Regions from separate parts of the Homo sapiens genome. Here all the other regions are linked to region 1. Evidence: promoter capture Hi-C in 16 types of primary human blood cells and fetal thymus (Javierre and others, 2016). All regions are on one chromosome and are shown on one strand. The core of a region is centred on a gene start or on the middle of the fragment in contact, and the rest is flanking DNA. Distances in the headings are between cores, read along the strand shown.

Region 1 (3,074 bases), core at 74-2,573:
GGTTACCTGGTCTAATCCAAATATGGTGGTCTTATATAGATCCTAAGCTTAAATCAATATGATGTAATTCTGGTCAGTTGGGAGTTTACGAGGGGGTTTTGCTCTTCCAATAAAGACAAAAGAGCAGATACTTCTATTACTACTTTGTTGAAGCCAACAACCCAGGTGACAGAGTGGAAAGGTAGGGGAAAAAACGTGTTGTTGATAATGTGCTGAGCCCCCAAGTTACCCTCCAGGTTAACCAACCTGGGGAGTGTAAAATAATGAATTCCTTATTATTTCAGCCACTTGGAATTGGTTTTTTGTTACTTGAGGGAAAAAATATTCTAATTAATATGCTAGTGTTTACTGTTTCCACGATGTGGTGTCAGCCTGTCTATATATATTTCTACAACTCATCTACACAAACCTTGCTTACAGTTTTCCAAATGCACCTTGGGCTTCTTGAGCCTTTGATCAAGCCATTCCGAATGCACTTCCCCCAAGAGGCTGGCCAGTTAAAATACTATCATTTATCAAACACAACTTAAATGTCACTTTCTCCTCTAGCCCTTTCAGAAATTACCTCAAAATTAAATGATCAGACCTAAAATATGTTGGGAGTGTTTTCACCTCTAGAATTTACCATACACCTTTATGCTAGTGTTACTTATAGAATGCCTACATCTGCTTTAGGTCATACACTTCAAAGCACAGAACGGTCCAGATCTTAATATAAAGGCTTGCCATTTACCAGGCACAGCTCTAAGTATTAACGGTTTTAATCCTCAAGACAAAACCTAAAGAGATAAATTCTTCTATTGCCACTTTGTGGATTAGGAAAATGAAGCACAAAAACATTTAACTTGCCTGAGGTTTCGGAGCTAGTACATTCTAGAACCTGGATTCAAATCAAGACAGCAATTAGCTGAATGAAGGTGTAACTGCAAATGCAAATAACTGATCACAAGGGATACACATTCACTCATACAAGATAGAAGATTTTTAACGTTGCTGGTACTAAAACCAAAGCGTCTGCGTTTTTAAGCGCAGCCCCACCCCGCAATACTAGAGACATTCTTTAGAGCTGGAAGCCTGATAGATTAAGGGGAACTATGCCTTTGTATTTTTTAAGACTCAATAAATTGCTCACTTCTTTCCCAAAATGAGGTGTCTGTGGGGGAGGCCCCTGTCGCTCCGTGTGCCAAGGGTCCTCCGATTGCTAGCACACAGCGGTGAGCAGAGAAGGTAGGTGAGGAACTGCACTGACTCAGCTGCAGAGGGCGGCGGCAGCCCGCCCCTGGGGCGGGAGAAGGGCAGGAGCCGGGAGACACCAGGAAGCTCTTCCCCGCCCGGGCACGTAACAGAGCTGGGAGCCTGGCTGCCAGGGGCGTGTTATCGCGGGGGCAGCCTGGGAGCGCTGCTGCGCCGCGGCAGGAGAAACAGCCGAGGACACCCTGGAAGAGCAGGAGCACGTGGGCCTGCGAGAATGGCGCCAACACCAGCCCTGCAAAGCCACATTCCAAAGCCGGGCCAAGGACAGCCACCGTTGCCCCGCAGGCCTCAAGGATGACGGTCAAGCCAGCCAAGGCCGCCTCCCTAGCCAGGAACCTCGCAAAGCGCAGGCGCACCTACCTGGGTGGCGCGGCTGGGCGGAGTCAAGAGCCGGAAGTCCCTTGTGCCGCAGTCCTTCCCGGGAAACCTGGGGACCGGAACTGCCCGGAGTTCCCGCCCCCAGACAGAACCCTGGGTTGCTGGGCAACCGATGCGGCCCCCGCAGCTGGTCTCTGTGGTGCTGGGAGCGAGCCCAGTATAGCTCCCACCTCCTGCGCTGGTAACCTCCCGTCCCGCCCGCCTCCCTTGTTGTCGCCTCTCCTCGCGTCGCGGAATCCTTGCCCTTGGCACTACTTACATCTCTCCGGGTCCCACAACACCTTAGCGCCCACCTGCTTCAAAGCCAAGCTCCACCGAAAGCGAGGCAGTCAGCCCCCGGACATGGCCTCAGCGCTGACTGATCGCACCTCTCGGGCCCCGAGCACCTACACCTACACCAGCCGGCCCCGAGCACTGCCCTGCCAGCGCAGCCGTTACCGGGACAGCCTGACGCAGCCGTGAGTGACCAAGCCAGCCCCTGTGTGGTCCATACTTGCACCCCATCCCCAGGCCGGGGTCTGGCCCCTTCGCCCTGGCAAAAAAGCTGCTTATGCTGTCTTCCCTTGGCTGCACTCTGCCGAAATAAAAGTTCTGCCCTAAGGAATCTCCCGTGGTGTGGAGGAGTGAAGCAGGAAGGGGCATGGGTTGGGCATCAGTTAACTTTTAGTGATATGAGTTGCTGCCGTGGTCCTTAACATGTACACGAATTGGCTCATTTCACAAAGTTTGAATTGTACCAGTGTGTATTGAGGGCCAACTACGTGCTGAGCACCTTACGGGGGGCATTCAAATACGTTTTCTTAGTTAATCCACAGTGCTGTGAAGTTGATTTTATAACTCCATTATGCAGATGAGGAGACCGCGGTGCAAAGATATCCAACAGTAGCATATCCAAAATGGGAGCCGAGTAAATCTCTTCGGCAGGCTTTGAGCAGGAGTAAGATTATTCTTCCATGCAGGACCACAGATTGGTTTTTTGTGGTGGTGGTGGTGGTGGTGGTGGTGGTTGCTGTTGTTGTTTTGAGACGGAGTTTCGCTCTTGTCGCCCAGGCTGGACTGCAATGACGCGATCTCCGCTCACTGCAACCTCCGCCCCCCTCCCCCACTCCTCCCCGATCAAACGATTCTCCTGCCTCAGCCTCCCAAGTAGCTGGGACTAGAGGCGCCCTCCACCACCCCCGGCTAATCTTTGTATTTTTAGTAGAGACAGGGTTTTGCCACGTTGGCCAGGCTGGTCTCAAACTCTTGGCCTCAAGTGATCCGCCCGCCTCGGCCTCCCAAAGTGCTGGGATTACAAGCGTGAGCCACCGCGCCCGGACGGCAGTTTGTGTTTTTACATCCATGAACAGTTGCAAATATTCAAACATACATAGGAAAGAAAAAAAACAAAACATAAGCCTTTTTTTTTTTCTTTTTTTTTTTTTGAGACGGAGTCTCGCTCT
Region 2 (3,101 bases), core at 100-2,599, 370 kb after region 1:
TAACTGGCCAGCAGTCCAGACCCCAGGGTGGCTTACCATAGAGGGCATTCTTCGATGGAGAATATACAAAGGCCAAGGTGTAGAGATAGAAGTTCAACAGGCCATAGAAAGATAAGAACTCGGCTGGTGGTGCTGTCAAGGGAAGGAACGCGGCATCTGGACACATCAGTCAGAGGCTCTGCCTACAGCCCGACCACTCCTCCCGCCATCAGCAGCCCCTTCTAGTGCCAAGCACCCGCCAGTGCCCGGGGGTCCATTACCCAGACGTCAGGACTCCACAGTTCAAGCCCACAGCCAGGGGTCACAAGCACTCTTCGAGGTCACAGTAAATAACAGGTGAACTATGGCCTCTCACATCAGTGGAAACCTGGACCCACTGAGCCATCTGGTGGCGCTCCTGTCACCAGCACCGAGGGCAGGGCCAGAAGAGATCAAGTTACATGAAAAGGGCAGGAAGGCCACGGGCATACGGTGAATCAAGGTCTCTAGACACAATAATGAAATAAAGAATTGGAAACAAACTCTCAAACCAATTGCTCTGAACATTTCTGGATTACAGACCCCTATGAAAATCAGATAAAAGCTTAGTGTGAAATTCAGTCACAAAACTTTGAAAAAATCGTATATTAATTCATGCATTAACTGGGACATAAGAAATCCCAAAGAAAGAACCCAGGATCTAAAGGATTAACTCTTGAAGTGTCCCCAACAAAGAGTGGAAAGCACATACCTAACCTCTCCGACTTCTGGGCGAGGCCAGGGCTCCCGGGAGGCAACAGCCCTGCGCCACTGGCCTCAGGCACAGCGGGAATCGAAGGGGGTCCCAGTATTTTCTGAGCTCTTCCCTACAGACACAGGCTCAACCTGCCACAACTGTCATACCCTTGGATACATCTCCGTGATGATGAGAGAGATATCCCGGGGGGAGACAGGAGGCTCACGGCAGCCCTCAGCCACCCCACAGTGCTCTGCTGGAGGGCAGTAGGGGCTTGGAGCCCCGCGGTGTGGAGAGGCAACCGCACCTCATTTACCTCACAGCACCTGCCCCTCTGGGTGGAAAGCAGCGTGGCGTGGGCACGCTCCAGAGCGCCAGCCTCTCTGGGTTTGGAGCCGGGCTCTGCCACCCGAAACCTGACCTGGGGCAACTACTGAGCCAAGCTTCCTGTGTACAGAGGAGGGACAGGCTGCCCCTTCCCACGGCTGCAGCGGGGCCAACTGAGACACCTCTCAGCAGAGACGAGGCCTCCGGAGAACAGGGCGCGAGGAGCTGACCTGTCTCCTCTTGAGAGGGGCAAATCTGAGCCACTAACTGCTGCAATGCTAAGCAGGCGTCCTGCAGCCAGGGCCCTCCAGTGAAAAGGATATAATTCTGGTAGTGAGTTGACAGCTCTGCTACAAAATTGTCTTGTAGTACTTGCGCCCCAAATCTCAAATAAAGGATGGCGATGCTGAACAAGACAGAGGAGCAGAGACAATATGTAAACATGCACGAAAACGGCACTAGCTTCAGAGAATTCTCTATTCACCCCATTCAAGCTTTCCGTCTGTACACTATGATTTCTGCATGGGAACTTCCACACACATGCACAGATGCACGCACAGATGCACACATGCACACACACACACAGCCCCTGCTTCTGGTTTTTGGTCTCGGATCTAGGTGGGCTAGACCCACCGGCCGGCTGCAGGGACAGGATGAACCCTGCTGCAGGCCCCATCACACTCTCCCTACTCGGGGCCTTGAAGCCTCCTTGGCACATTTCCTCCCTGCTCTTGCTTTTGTAACTCAGGTTTTCGAGACCATCTCCTGTGACAGAGCCCCTCTCCCGAGGGAAGCCTGCTTCTCCTTCGTCACAGCTCCCCTTTCAGACACAGGGACGCCTCCCCGGTCAGTTCCAGTGACTTTGCACAGCAGCGAAGGCAACATCTTTGGTTCAGACTCCCAGCCGGTGACAGATGACAACAGAGGCCTCGGGACACAGGTCCACAGGCTCCTCCCCCACCTGCCTTCCACCTCACCTCCCACATGCCACCCTCAGCCAGAAGGCTTAACATGTGCACCAGACCCTTTCACCTCCCAGCTCAAGACCCTCTGGCGGTCTCCCAGCACAGAATGGAAACTGGACTCAAGAGCTCGCTCTGCCTCCTGCCGTGCCCACGCCTGCTCATCTCCAGCCACGCTGGCCTCCAGCGACGCAGCTGTCTCTCCACCTCGCCATGCTGACGCCCACCCAGGCTGCCGGTGCCCTGTTCTGCGGCCTGGGGCAGCCACCCCACAGCTTTCAGGGCTCCTCCTCAGGTCCTCAGCCAAATGTCGCCTCTCCAAGAGATACATCCCCAAACCACTCATCTAAAGTGGACCCTTCCCCTCTGCAAGTCACATCTCCTTGTTTCGTCTGCAGCATGGCACGCAGGGGGAATGTATTTAGTTGTTTGCCACTCGTCTCTCTCTGTGTGAACATAAATCCCGTGACAGAGAGAAGCCTGTCTGCCAGGACAGGCACTCAGTAACTATTTGTAGGATAAATGAGTCCCCTAACACCTATGTGAAGAGAGATCACATGGCAGGGCAACTTCCGAGACGGAGGCCACCAGAAGTAGACAGTAGCTCCCAACTTGGGGACTAGGTAATTTGAGGGTGAGGGTGTGTGAGTGAAGGTGTAAGGGTGTGAGAGTGAGGGTGTGTGTGAGGATGTGTGACAGTGAGGGTGTAAGGTGTGTGAGCAAGGGTGTGTGAGGGTGTGAGAGAGGGTGAAAACGAGGGTGAGGGTGAGGGTGTGTCAGTGAAGGTGTGAGGGTGTGAGAATGAGGGTGTGTGTAAGGATGTGTGAGAGTGAGAGGCTGTAAGGGTGTGCTGAGAGTGAGGGTGTGTGAGTGATGATGTGTGAGAGGGTGTGAGTGAGGGTGAGGGTGAGGGTGAGAATGAGGGTGAGAATGAGGGTGAGGGTGTGTGAGTGAAGGTGTGGGGGTGTGAGAGTGTGAGAGTGAGGGTGTGAGGATGTGTGAAAATGAGGGTGTGTGTGAAGGTGTGTGTGTGAGGGTGGGTCAGTTGTGAGTGAAGGCATGAGTGAGGTGTGAGTGAGCCTCTATGTGAGGTTGTG
Region 3 (3,395 bases), core at 757-3,256, 290 kb after region 1:
ACCCTAATACAGATTTGGTATTGAGGAAGCCACCTATCATTCCTTCTTATTGTATTCCTCACAACACAACAGAAGAGATCTGTGAAACGGTTCCTTCACCAAAAAGCCTGTGATATGAGTATAAGGTTATTTAATAATGAATGGTAAAAGTTTAAAAGCTAATTAGTATTGGTGTTGCAAAAGTAGGAAATGGCTTAATTGCAACGACTGGAGCAAGAACCAGCCTTTCAAATGGACAGCATGTGCTTACAAAATGCGTAGACCTGGCTGGGCGAGGTGGCTCACGCCTGTAACCCCAGCGCTTTGGGAGCCCGAGGTGGGCAGATCACGAGATCAGGAGGTCAAAAGCAGCCTGGCCAATAGTGAAACCCCGTCTCTACTGAAGATACAAAACAAATTAGCTGGGCCTGGTGGCACATGCCTGTAATCCCAGCTACTCAGGAGGTTGAGGCAGGAGAATCGCTTGAACCCGGGAGGTGGAGGGTGTGATGGGCCAAGATTGCGCCATTGCACTCCAGCCTGGACAAGAGTGAAACTCCATCTCAAAAAAAGAAAAAAGCAAAAAAAAAAAAAGCTTAGACCACAACCACTCTCCAAATACAAGTGCAGCAAGTGTTTCAAAGATCTTAGAAGTAAAAACACAGGCAAAAAAAATACAAGAAATCTCCGCTGCCAAATTATTTAGTTTAGTTGTGTATGAATTCTGCCCCTTCACACACAGCACAGTTTGCTATGCTGTGTAGTTCACGTTCTCATCATGTCCCATGCTGGAGGTAAAAATTACAGACACTTTTAGAGTTTTAATTTGTGTTATGCATTTTTTTTTTTTTGAAAACTGACTCCATGCTTCAAAGTACGTCATCACACCATGACTCTGACATGTACATAAAGATGTTGATATTTCCTAAGGGAAGAGATCTCCTTTTTGTACATCTGTATTTGCAAAAGATAAAATTTCTTGAGATCTCAGCTGTTTGGGTGACTGTATATGCAATGGTGACCCATGGCGGTTTTTGATCCATCTCATCAAATGACTGTTTGAAAAATACTGCTGTTCATGACAATATTTCAGTTACAAAGCTGGATGCACACAATACCAGCCATAGTAATGTGTATTTCTACACTTCCCTTTCTGATGTATTTCTTTATGAATATGGTTCATCTGTTCATAATTGTTATACCCATGTGACTGTCATTAGTATATCTGAGTGTTTATGCTTGCAAAAATATGCATGCTGTTTTTGCCTATTTATTGTGTAAAGTGGCCAGTTAAGTGTTCTGTCATGGTTTTTGTTTTTAGTTTGTTTGTTTAGAGACAGTCGCGCTCTGTTGCCCAGGCTGGAACGCATTGGCGCAATCATGGCTCACTGTAGCCTTGGCCTCCTGGGCTCAAGGGATCCTCTTCCCTCAGCCTCCTGAGTAGCTGAGCCTACAGGCATGTGCTACCACATCCAGCTAATTTTTTTATTTTTTGTAGATAGGGTCTTGCTATGTTGCCCAGGCTGTTGTCATGTTTTTACATGTTTCTCAAATCCCCTTTAAATTTTTTAAATAAATTTCTTCAAAATCATTTTTAGATTTTCTAGAATTATATTTTTGGGATTTTGATCTTTCAGGATTCCAACATTCAGGATGATAGCACTCAGGACTATGTCTTCTGGGATTATGATCAGCTCCCATATTCTCCCATATATACCTGCCCCCTTTAATTTATAGAATAATGAAGATAACCAAGACAATATATTTCCATGGCACTTTACGGTTTTCCAAGTACCAACACAGACATTATTTTGTTAATTTCTCACAACAGCCATACAAATATAGACGATATATACAAATATAGACACTCCCTGACTTACGATGGTTTGACTTACAATTTTCTGACTTGATGATGGTGTGAAAGCAATATATATTCAGTAGAAACCGTACTTTGCATTTTGATCTTTTCTATTTTGTATTATTAATAACATTTTTATTATTATAAAATAGGCTCTGCATTAAATGATTCTGCCCAACTGTAGGCTAACGCAAGTGTTCGGAGCACTTTTAAGGCAGGCTAGGCTATGCTATGATGTTTGGTAGGTTAGGTGTGTATTAAATACAATTTATTTTTTTTGAGATGGAGTCTTGCTCTGTTGCCCAGGCTGGAGGGCAGTGGCACTTGGCTCACTGCAACCTCCACCTCCAAGGCTCAAGCAATTCTCCTGCCTCAGCCTCCAGAGTAGCTGGGACTACAGGTGCCTGCCACCATGACCAGCTAATTTTTGTATTTTTAGTAGAGACAGGGTTTCACCATGTTGGCCAGGCTGGTCTCGAACTCCTATCCTCAAGTGACCCACCTCGGCCTCCCAAAGTGCTGGCGTGAGCCACCGCGCCTAGCTAAATATATTTTTGACTTACAGTATTTTCAATTTACTTTGGGCGTATTGGGACATAACCTCATCATAAGTCAAGCAGCACCTGTATAATTATTTCCACCTCTCAGGTGGGAAACCCAGGTAACTGCCCCAAGATCACACAGCTAATTTCTTTGGACAGAAATGGTGCTGGTCCACTGTACATCAGAGCCTGCAAACACTCAAAAGAGACACTCCCACTCACACACACGTTAACCAATCTTATTTCCCCTTAGACCCCAGAGACTCTACACACACGCCCAGCACAGAGCAGAGTTGGGGAAGGGGGCCGATGCCATGCCAAGAGTAAAGAGACCTCGGGTGCAGGCAGAAAGGGTCGCTGATGACACAGAGGGTCCCGCGACCAGAATGAGGAGAGAAGCTCTGCCCAGCCTGAGGGCCCTCGCTCCCCACCCCGCTTTGTGACCCGCTCCAGGCACAGTCAGATCCCTTTGCTGGGAGGTTCCGTGCCCGGCCTCAGCCTCGAAAGCTCCCCTGCTTCCTCTCCTTCTATCCCCTGACCCCTACTAGAGAAGTGCCCAGAATGGATACGTTACCCTGCCAGGACTGCGGCTGCACTGGCTCTCGCTGACAGGAGGTGGAGTAGGAGGAACCACAGAAATTTTGCTGCCAAGGAAAACACAGGCATAAGAAATGGGTTGTGAACCATGCAAGCCGTTAGTTTTACAAATACACAAAATGTGCCATTATTCTATAATTCTAGTTCTCCGCCTTTTTTTTAAACTGCCTCACTTTTTGGAAAAATAGCCAGCAGCCCTGCTTGGACCTGCTGCTCTACGAGGGGCATGATTTCCTGGTATCTATATGAGGGCGATGCTGCCTAAAGTCTGGGTACTCCGCCCCACTCAGTCATGTGTTCTGAAACAGCCTGGGTGCTCCGGCCTGGACCTGCCACCTGGCTGCGGGGAAACCCCTGGTTCCCATCTGCGCTCCCGTGTTCTCTTAGCACAAACCACACCAGCAGAAGCGCCAAAAATG
Region 4 (3,214 bases), core at 350-2,849, 260 kb after region 1:
ATTCCAGCCTGGGCAACAGAATGAGACCCCCATCTCAGAAAGATGGGAGAGGGAGAGAAAGAGACAGAGAGAGAGAGATAGAGGGAGAGAGACATACAGGACATAATGAAAAAGTATATGTTTGGACTCTCATATAGAGAAAAATCGGGCAGAAGCTATATTTGAAGAGATAATGGTTAAGAATTTCTAAAGACTAACAAGAGACAATAAACCACAGATTTAAGAGGAAAATATTTTTTAAAAAAACTATACATAGGTACATCATAATAACATTGCTTAAAATCAAAGACAAAGAGAAAATCTTAATGGTAGAGAAAAAAAGGATCTGTTACCTATGATGGAATCAACAGTAAGATTTAACCATTTTACTGCCCACCAGAAATGATAGAAGCCAGACTTGTTTAATCCAAAAAGAATGATGAAAAGAAGGTGGTAGAGACAGTAACACAGGAGAAAAAAGTAGTTACAATAAACTAGAACAGGTTACATACTACAAAAAAAGTCAATGACTGGATTTTTAAAAACATCTGACTGTGCTATTTAGATGAGACACAGCTGAAATATGAATGTACAGAAGGGCAGGAAGAGACGGCGCCTTCTTTTGCAGGGAGCCAGACAGGGAGGGCTGTGTGAGTGGGAGGGGAAAGGTGGGAATGCCAAGTGCAGACAACTAATAAAAGCTTAGCTGAGGGGCTAGGTGCAGTGGCTCACGCCTGTAATCCCAGCACTTTGGGAGGCCAAGGCAGGTGGATCGCTAGAGGTCAAGAGTTCAAGACCAGCCTGGCCAACATGGCGAAACCCTGTCTCCACTAAAAATACAAAAATTAGCTGGGCACGGTGGCACACACCTGTCATCTCAGCTACTTGGTAGGCTGAGGTGGGAGAATCACTTGAACCCAGGAGGTGGAGGTTGCAGTGAGCTGAGATAGCACCACTGTACTCCAGCCTGGGCAGCTGAGCGAGACTCTATCTCAAAACAAAACAAAATAAAAAGATTAGCTGAGGTGGGGAGAGAAAAGTGGTAGCTGGAGGGGAATGGAAGGTTTAGTGAAGGTGTTTTATTACAGGAGACTTGAATGTGTTTCAGGGTCCAGGTAAGTAGAGGCTGAATGCGTAAGAGAGAGGAAGGACAAGTAATAGAATAAGGAACAGAGAAGGCAGGGGAGGGCAGGATCCCAAGTATTGCTGCAGGCATCAGCTTCTTCTATTGCGGGTGGGGAAAGAAGAGTCACTTGGGTGCAAATGCGGTTGGTTAATTTTGCTATCAGGAGGATTGGGAAATTTCAAACTGATTCTTTTCTTTCTTGGTAGAGTAAAAAGGGAGATTTGAGAGTGAGGAGGAAGAGCAGGTTTGAAAAGACTGGAGGAGGTGTGAAATGTTTGTTGTGGAGAGCAAAAAAACTGTGTTAATCAGGCAAAGACATCAGGATTGCTGGGCAGTGCTGGGCACAGTGGACCTGGGAACACAACAGGGCAGACCTAATCTCCAGCATGCAGGCGTGAGTGTCCTGGGGTTAGGGCTGCCCTGCCATGCACTTTGCTCCTTGGGTGTGCAGCTGTTGGTGTGCAGGTAGAAAGAAAGGGCACAGCTGCGCTTGTCCAGGTTGGCACCCAGAATTATAAAGCATCCAGGAAGCATTGTCATTACTCATCATTTTATAAGTAGATAAACGAAGGTCAAGGCAGGTTGAGTCATGCCCCAAATTGCATCACACATCAGAAGCAGACCTGAAAGTGGACCAGGGCTCCTAAATCTCTGGGCCATAATGTATGCTCATGTCTCTGAGTAGTTCAACCGCTGTGTCTGCTGAGCAGGGACGGGGAGGATACACCCTCATAATGAAAGGAGAGCAGAGCACGTCCATCCATCAAATGCGTTCCTTCCCAGGCGACTCATGGCTCCACCACCATCGCCCTGGCAGGGCTCCTGGTTCTGCTCTCTCTGGAGCCAGAACAGAGCCTTTGAGCAGGTTACAAGTTGAATGCAGCAAATGGAGTCAACCAAAAGATTCTGGCCCAGAAGCGCAACCCAAAACTCAGCCTGACTTTTATTAAAGCCATTGGCACAGTCTGGGTTTGAAAGAAAGTCAATCTGGGTAACGGCAAAGGAAAAACTCAAGGCAGGCAGGGAGCCTTCTGCCAGTGACTTTCTCTGAAGGTCACAAATGTATCTCCTGTAACTGCAAGCTAAGTTTCATGCCCTTTTATTTCACAAGGGCAGAAAACTCAGAGTCAACTGAAGCCACAGCTAAATTAAAAATAATAAATCCTGATAAGAACACACTGAGAACATTTTTGCAAAGTGGTTAAGATGGTGAGTGATGAGGCCACACAGCAGCCTTCCAGTGCCTGGCCCTGACACTTAGTGGCTGTGTGATCTTGACCAATTATCTTACCCTCCAGAGCCTCAGCTTCCTCATCTGTAAAATGGGGATCTATTTCATAGGGTCATGGTGAAGTTCAATTAGTTAACACACGGAAAAAGACTTAGAACCATGCCTATGCATGGTAAGCTTAGTGATTATCAGCCTTTTAAAAATGCCACAAAATGTGGATGACCTTTGTAAGCTAAGCAAATCATTTGATTTTTCGTTGTTTTTTTTTTTTTTGCCATGAAATGTATAACAAAAGAGTACATATAACATATAGGATTAAACAATTATAAAATTAACATCCACATGCCCACTCTCAGCTTAAGAAAAATAACATCGCCAGGACTTCAGAAGTGCCCCAGAACTCCTCCTCCCTTATCAAATCCCCTCTCATTCCTGTCTCCAGGAAACACTATTTCAAACTGTCTGTTAATCATCCTTGATTTTCTTGATGGTTTTACTTTTTCTACTTTTTTTTTTTTTTTTTTGAGACAGAGTCTCGCTCTTGTCGCCCAGGCTGGAGTACAATGGCACGATCTCAGCTCACTGCCACCTCTACTTCCCAGGTTCAAGCATTTCTCCTGCCTCAGCCTCCCAAGTAGGTGGGATTACAGGCACCTGCCACCATGCCTGGCTAATGTTTGTATTTTCAGTAGAATGGGGTTTCACCATGTTGGTCAGGCTGGTCTCAAACTCCTGACCTCAGGTGATCCGCCCGCCTTGGCCTCCCAAAGTGCTGGGATTACAGGCATAAGCTACTGCATCCAGCCAATGGTTTTATTATACATGAATATATCCCCCAAACAATCTACTGTTTAGTTTTACCTGATTTTGAAATTTAT
Region 5 (3,402 bases), core at 697-3,196, 340 kb after region 1:
CTTTTCTAAATGCTGACCCATATCAAACGGCCCGTGCAGCTTAGAGACAGACAGGGAAGAGTTCCCTGTTGGCAAAGCGGTCAGGAAACAGGCTAAGCAGGTTCATATTTTATGCTCCCCCTTCCTCAAAGCCAGCTGGGAAGCAAAAGCGAGCAAAGAAAAAAAGACAGGGCTGGATTCCATCAGAGTTGCTGCTTGTGAGCCTCTTTCTTTGCTTTTCTTTACACCTCCCGGCACCGTCAAAAATGAGGTAGGAAAACCCTTAACTGGAGGTCTTTCCTTAAAGAAGGGGTAAACTGGAAGCCTGAAAATGTCCCTTGAATGATTCCCACGAAGTCGGCAAACAGACAAGCAGATGGCAGACAGCAAACTTACCGCCCAAAGGCACCGTTTTAAATGAATAACAAGAGCGGCCTCCCTCCTCCTCCTGAGCGTCCTCTACGTTTAGTTACATAAGGAGGATCATCTCCACCAACAGACCTTCGTTAGGACCCTTCTCAGGCACGAAGCCCAGCAGCAGGTGGGTAGTGATTTGTAAGCAAACAGCATTGGCGACGGAGTGGCAGGCCCCAAGCAGAGAAAGCTAAACACCCAAAGTGACCCCCCGGGAAGGGCAGCCTACCGTGTCCTCTCCTCCTCTGTGTTTTGAACCGCCTGGTCTCGGTACAGGACCTGGAGAATGGCCTCGCGTTCTAACTCCTTGAGAGCACTCAGATCTATTTCTTGGGCCATTTCTTCTCCGTTTTCGTTGACCCAGGTTGGAAGAGCTTCACTGCATGGACCAAGCGCTCACGCCCTGCAGATGAGCGGCGGAGGCCAGCTGCAGCCAGCCTTGTTTAAAGAGCTCCCTCTCCTATTTCACTGGCAACTGTTTTGCTTGTGGTTCTTTTTTCCTTTTTAACTGTGTCATACTCCTTAGAAGAAGAAAGCCTCAAGAAGTTCTGCGTTTGTCGGAGTTACGGCTCGCAGAGCCTCGTGCTACCCGGGGGGTGTTTTCACCGGGTTCTGCAGCAGCTGCTGACATCCATCTAAGACAAAAGCATATCTCTTTTCTGAGGTTTCACCAGAGATTGTTATAAATTATCCACAGCTGCAAGCAGATAATTTCTGCAAAGCAGAAGTAATTTTCAAGCCAAGGAAATTTAGAAATAGCAATAAAAAGAGTATCAGTGACTCATAGAAGCTAACCTTCCATTTAAGATGTTTCCAGGTCAGCAGGAACCATCATGAAAAGCTCAGCCCGTTCAATACCTGCAGAAAAGAAAACAAAAAATGGCAACATTTTTCTTGGCTTAAGTATCTCTGCAGCATTACTTCCAAAAAGACAAAATATTCTACACAAACCCTTGCATTTTCTGCTCGCGGTGATAATGTAAAATTTTAAATTTGCTTAAATAACACTTCTCATATTTCTAAAAGCCTCAAACTTCCAAACTTGAATTTTCCTAATATGGATTCCATAACTTTAGTGGTCAGAGGACGTAAAAGTCTGTGTTTAATGTACATTACCCTAATTGAAGAAATACTGGAAAAATGACATTCCCAACTGTTGGCTATTATTTTTACCATTAACTTCAACACTCAAAAAATGTTTAATCAATTAAGGATGTATGAAGCAGCACCACCACAAGCTCAGCCTATCAATTATTTACAGTCTTGAATAAGTTTCATGAGCTGCCTTATGCATTAGCTCTTGTTTTTGTTTAATGACAGCTGAAAGGTTCTGCATACATCCTTTTATCCAGAAAATGCAGAAGATCAAATCAATATACTTCCTATAGTACCATTTTTGTTATTAAATCTATGGGAATCCCTTAGTGATAAGACGTCCTTTCAATGCTTTAAAAGCTAAACTTCCTTTGCTAGGCTTCAAAAAAAATCTGCATTATATTAATTTATGATCCATGGCAAATTAGTGAATGAGAGGCTAACAGAGCTCTAAGGTAGCATTTCCTTTAAGCAAAGGTTCTTAACCTTTTTCTTAATCTTTGGTAGTCTGGTGAAGCCTACGTATTTAAACGCATAAAATAAGGTATGCTGTGTTACATAGGAAGAAATTGATTATACTGAAATATTTAAAAATTGTAATATAGTAATATATGTGTTCCTTGATGCATGAAATATTAAGATCTAGCAGTGATCTAAGGACTCCCAGAATTTCAAAGTAGTGATGAATAGAAACAATGTCTTGAGATAGCTACAACATATCATGTGGTATGAAAATATCTGTGATTTCTGTTGGTGACAAAGTCACAAGTTCTGCTGATTCTACTGTGGTTTCTTGCCTATATCCATATTTTAAGAAAATGCTAAATTTGAGTTAAAGGTTAATAAAAATAAAGATTTAATTTTTTCTCCAAGTTCATGGGCCTACAGGCCAAGATTGCTCAGTTCAGGAATTCAATATTTGTCAGTTTCCCTATTGTAAAATAAAATTAAAATATATTATTCATCCCAACTGCAGAGGTTGCATGAGGAACAGAAAACCCAGAGCTCTGAAAAGGGATGTTCTCGGCTTCTAGTCTCTGACAAAGCACCCACAAGACCTGTTCTCCAAAGGCCTCCTCTCTAGATGAAGGGAAAATCACAAAGCAACAAGGACTTTAGGTTCTTACCTGGCTGGGCTGGTACCTGACTATGCCAGCAGGGGCAACGCCTCTTCCCTCCTTAGATCCAGGTTCCAGATGAACAGGCAGAACTGGCATCCCTCAGTGCCCCAAGGCTCTGAGTCTCTGGAAAAGAGGAAAGTAATAGAAAACTGTGTGTGACCAAGTGCCAAGTGGCAAGGTGCAAATTAGCCATCAAGTCACCAACTGCACGAGCCCATTCTTCTCAACTTGCCCCTCAGTTCTTCATGCTGTCTTCTTATTTCCACTCTACTAATCGTACTACTGGGTCCAGAGCCATCTGGTTTGTCTAATTCTTGAGTTTTCATTTATTTATTTTGAGACAGGACCTCATTCTGTCACCCAGGCTGGAGTGCAGTGGCACCATCATGGCTCACTGCAGCCTTGGCCTCCCAGGCTCAAGCAATCCTTTAGCCTCCGCCTCCCGAGTAGCTGGGACTACAGGTGCGGGCTACCATGCCTAGCTAATGTTTTAATTTTGTAGAGATGGGTTTCACCATGTTGCGCAGGCTGGTCTGGGCTCAAGCAGTCCTCCTGTCTCAGCCTCCCAAAGTGCTAGGTTTACAGGTGTAAGCCACTGCACCTGGCTCTCGAGTGTTTTTAGTGAAGAGTTTTTGCACCTGGCTGCAAACACTTGCTCTGTGCACTGTGCTTTCTTTTCATGTGGCTGTTTGTGCTCCGTTCTCTGGCTCTGGTCTCCAGTACTCCAGGTAAGCAGGACCACATAGCTGCAGTATTGGCTGGTAATGACACCACTCAGTGAATCTGGTGGGGG
Region 6 (3,210 bases), core at 203-2,702, 390 kb after region 1:
ACTTTTTGTCATTTCTACCTCTCCTTTTAAGCCAAATATTAAAGCTTTTTTATGGAAATTATTTACCATGCCACCCTTGCGGGAACTGCTTTACTGGACTATTTGCAGTAGGACTATGTACTGCAGCACCCTGAGGGTAGGATATCAGACAGACAATCTCAATTACCGTAGCATTTTGCTTAATTACTATCCTTACAGCAGGAATAACAGTTACTAATAAAAAATAACACATGGGTCTTTCCAAACATGTGCCTCTGCCTCTCATTGGGAAAGAAATGTTGCTTCTATCTCAACCAATCAGGTCTCGTAAGAGAGGCTGCTAAAAATCTCAAACAAAGGGCTAAAATGCTAAGCGAATACCAAAACAACCAAATGAATTATTGGTTTGGGAACAAAAAGCATACCATGGGTCATCCCATTCCTGGGCCCTCTCCTAATAATAAGCCTAGGACTAATGTTTTTACCCTGCCTAATTAACCTTTTTCAAAGATTCTTAACTGACAGGAGCATGGCTATTTCACAGACAACTATCCAAAACATCTACAGACGGCATTGCTCCCGCAGTCAATCCGAGACCAAGGGACTCTCTACCTCTCCCACCCAGCAGGAAGTAACCAGAAAGAACACGTCGCCCCTGGTCCTTTTATAACTATAGGGTCTGGAATGACAGAGCAGGAGCACCGTCATCTTGGACAAACACCCCCATTTTCAGTTCCAGCTCCCTTTCTAACTTCTTACGTTTCAAGGAAATCACTTCTAACAAAAAGCAGCCAGAAAGAGTAGACAGTAAAACACAGATAAGACAGCTGGGCACAGCTGGGCACCCAAGTCTCTTGGGTAACCACCGAACTTCACACTCATGTTTTGGGAGTGTAAATGGGCCCCCAAAAATGGGCCCCAGTAAAAAAGTAGGCCCTAATAAGCACATTCCTTTCCCTTTAAATGCGCTAAGATAGACAAGCTAAAAGCAGACTAGGAGGTGGGGGGGGTATCCCTGCAGCTGCAGGGAGTTGTATGGGAACAGACACAAAACCTCCCCCTCCCAGATAAGCAAGGCGAAGAGATACAGAAACATTCCAAGCCTGTGATAACCTCTTCTGCCCTGAACCCTTAAATACTCTTAGCCTGTAAGAGAGAGTGACTCTGACCTAACTCGGCCAGAAGGCCCTCTCAGGTTTATTGTCCAAAACAAACCTGTCTTTGACTGTTGAGCCGCTTTTCCTGTTTCTTTCCTTTCTTTAACTCTTACATTCCTCCCCGGCATTCCTCGGGCACAGGTGTGGGCGGGGCCGCCACCAAAGGCTGCCTGATTCAGAGCACTCAGGGAGTCCTTTCGTCAGGGGGAACCCCTCCACATCCTACCAATCCCTTTCTAGAAGAAATAGCTTCTCTAGAAAAGGAAGCCTGCAGCTTTAAGGCTGATTCCAAAGATAGTTCTCGTAACTCCATGAACTCTTAATTTGCAACTGAAGCTGAGAGTCAGAATGATACGACTGAGGAACCCAACAAGGTCCAGAAAAGGAAGACGGATAGACTTCGACATCAGGGCTCCACAATGATCTACCTGGAGGCTAACCAGGGCATCCAGGGAAATCAATGCCGAAAAGGAAGGGAGAGGCTGTCACTAGTTCAAAACCAAGCATAGCAGAGTGTCCCAGTTGTGGAGAAGGACCAGCTAGGAGTGAAGGACCAGCCAAGACTGAGAAGGAACAGCCAGGAGTGTCACAGTCACCCCTGCTGAGAAGGATAGTCAATCCCAGAGGTCAGTGGAGAAGGACAAGACAGTGCCAGAGAGGAGCAGCTTCTGTGACAGGAGAGTAGTCACAGACCCTCAGGAGAAACCCACTGAGGAGCCCCTTGGGGACCAAAGGACAGTCACTGACAAATGCTCTCCACCCCTCGAGTTTCTGGATGACTCTCTCATTTAGAAATCCGAAAGCATAAAGATAGGGAGGTGGTGATGGAGCACCCCTCTTCAGGAAGCAACTGGTCTGATCTGGAGATCTCCACGGTCAGATTCTCTCAGGAGGAACCCGTCCCACTGAAACCCTCAGCCATTCCAGAGCCTTCTTCCTTCACTACTATGTCATGTACCTGCCTCATTTTTACAGTAGTCCTTGGTGTGAGTATGTCAGCTAGTGCACCAGCAGCCCCAAGCCTGCCGGCTACCTGTCTGTGAGCAGCAGCAGCAATGACGCAGCACAGGCTGGGAGGAGCAGCCCGAGTGCCTGAGTGATTCTTCCCCCAACTCTGCAGTGAGCGCCCATAACGTCTCCAGAGATGTGGAGGCCTCAGAGGAAGGCAGCTCCCAGAATTCTCACTCATTTCACTTCTCCAGAAGCTCGGGAGGAAAAGAGGTGAAGCAAAGAAGAACATTCCAAGAGGAGATGCCTCTGTGTCCTTGTGGAGGACACACATCCAGCTCCCTGCCAAAGAGCCACTGGGAGCCAAGCCTAGAGCAGGGCTTCACTGATACCCACTGTCATTTGGATATGCTGTATTCCAAGTTGTCTTTCAAAGGGACCTTGACTAAGTTCAGAAGAATTTACAGCAGCTCCTTCTCTAAGGAATTTCAGGGTTGCATCTCTGACCTCTGCCACCCTCACCCTGACAAATTGCCTACGGGGGGAGCTGTTGAAAGAGAATCTGGTCTGGGGGGCCTTTGGCTGTCACCCTCATTTTCCATGTTACTACAATAAGAGTCAGGAAAGAAATCTTTTACAAGCCTTAAGGCACCCCACGACTGTGGCATTTGGAGAAACAGGCTTCAATTACTCCTACAAGTGCACCATGCCTGTCCCAGAACATCACAAGGTATTTAAGAGACAGCTTGAGCTGGCTGCGTCTCTAGAGAAGCTTTGGTGATCCTCTGCCAGCAAGCTGACGAGGATCTGCTGGACACCATGAGAAAATGTGTGTTCTCTGACTACAAGATACACAAGCATTGCTTCACTGCAGCTACCTGGCCATGGAACCCCTGCTGAAGTACTTTCCCAACGTCGGTGGGCCTCATGGCAGTCCTGACGTACTCCTCCACCTGAGAAGCCCGGGAAGTGCTGAGGCAGATCCCACTGGAGAGAATCATCATGGAAACGGATGCTCCCTACTTCCTCCCTAGCCGGGTTCCCAAAAGCCTTTGCCAGTATGCCCACCTGGGCCTGGCCTTGCATACAGTCCTGGAGACTGCCAGAGTCAAAGATCTAGTCTCCC

Evidence for each region. The method cuts DNA at HindIII sites, captures the fragments that hold promoters and counts their contacts. A CHiCAGO score of 5 or more calls a contact.
Region 2: a contact is called between a fragment that was not itself captured here and the fragment with the promoter of RSPH3 in region 1, in 1 of 17 cell types (total CD8 T cells). The highest score is 5.3, in total CD8 T cells.
Region 3: a contact is called between a fragment that was not itself captured here and the fragment with the promoter of RSPH3 in region 1, in 12 of 17 cell types (total B cells, naive B cells, megakaryocytes and 9 more). The highest score is 11.8, in total B cells.
Region 4: a fragment that was not itself captured here is called in contact with the fragment with the promoter of RSPH3 in region 1 in 2 of 17 cell types (naive B cells and total CD8 T cells); the score reaches 5.1 in naive B cells.
Region 5: a contact is called between a fragment that was not itself captured here and the fragment with the promoter of RSPH3 in region 1, in 2 of 17 cell types (naive B cells and total B cells). The highest score is 5.3, in naive B cells.
Region 6: a fragment that was not itself captured here is called in contact with the fragment with the promoter of RSPH3 in region 1 in 1 of 17 cell types (neutrophils); the score reaches 5.6 in neutrophils.

What each region holds. Positions count from the first base shown.
Region 1 is chr6:158,998,451-159,001,524 of GRCh38, reverse strand. It overlaps RSPH3 (radial spoke head 3), which reads left to right and starts at 1,323. Exons shown (of 8, transcript NM_031924.8): 1 at 1,323-2,090. The coding sequence starts at 1,975. TAGAP-AS1 (TAGAP antisense RNA 1) reads right to left here and starts at 1,652. Exons shown (of 5, transcript NR_183546.1): 1 at 1,133-1,652. RefSeq lists enhancers at 1,015-1,064, 637-1,608, 1,475-1,634, 1,805-1,874, 1,905-1,954 and 2 more. The HindIII fragment of the contact is 7,152 bases long and covers 50-3,074 here.
Region 2 is chr6:158,626,755-158,629,855 of GRCh38, reverse strand. TMEM181 (transmembrane protein 181) reads right to left here. Exons shown (of 17, transcript NM_001376852.1): 14 at 1,366-1,448; 15 at 37-126. Among named protein-coding and RNA genes, the nearest start is that of DYNLT1, 16 kb to the left of the region's middle. The HindIII fragment of the contact is 378 bases long and covers 1,161-1,538 here.
Region 3 is chr6:158,707,950-158,711,344 of GRCh38, reverse strand. SYTL3 (synaptotagmin like 3) reads right to left here. Exons shown (of 18, transcript NM_001242394.2): 8 at 2,954-3,023. Among named protein-coding and RNA genes, the nearest start is that of MIR3918, 55 kb to the left of the region's middle. RefSeq lists enhancers at 2,335-2,966, 2,967-3,395. The HindIII fragment of the contact is 2,859 bases long and covers 577-3,395 here.
Region 4 is chr6:158,736,435-158,739,648 of GRCh38, reverse strand. All of the region lies in intron 11 of SYTL3 (synaptotagmin like 3), which reads right to left. Among named protein-coding and RNA genes, the nearest start is that of MIR3918, 27 kb to the left of the region's middle. The HindIII fragment of the contact is 1,833 bases long and covers 683-2,515 here.
Region 5 is chr6:158,660,599-158,664,000 of GRCh38, reverse strand. SYTL3 (synaptotagmin like 3) reads right to left here. Exons shown (of 18, transcript NM_001242394.2): 3 at 2,616-2,732; 4 at 623-1,251. The coding sequence starts at 732. Among named protein-coding and RNA genes, the nearest start is that of SYTL3, 12 kb to the right of the region's middle. The HindIII fragment of the contact is 4,315 bases long and covers 1-3,402 here.
Region 6 is chr6:158,609,756-158,612,965 of GRCh38, reverse strand. The region is part of intron 10 of TMEM181 (transmembrane protein 181); the gene reads right to left. MIR7161 (microRNA 7161) reads right to left here; the gene lies at 3,176-3,210. It also overlaps the pseudogene TATDN2P2. Among named protein-coding and RNA genes, the nearest start is that of MIR7161, 1.7 kb to the right of the region's middle. RefSeq lists an enhancer at 3,146-3,210. The HindIII fragment of the contact is 2,812 bases long and covers 47-2,858 here.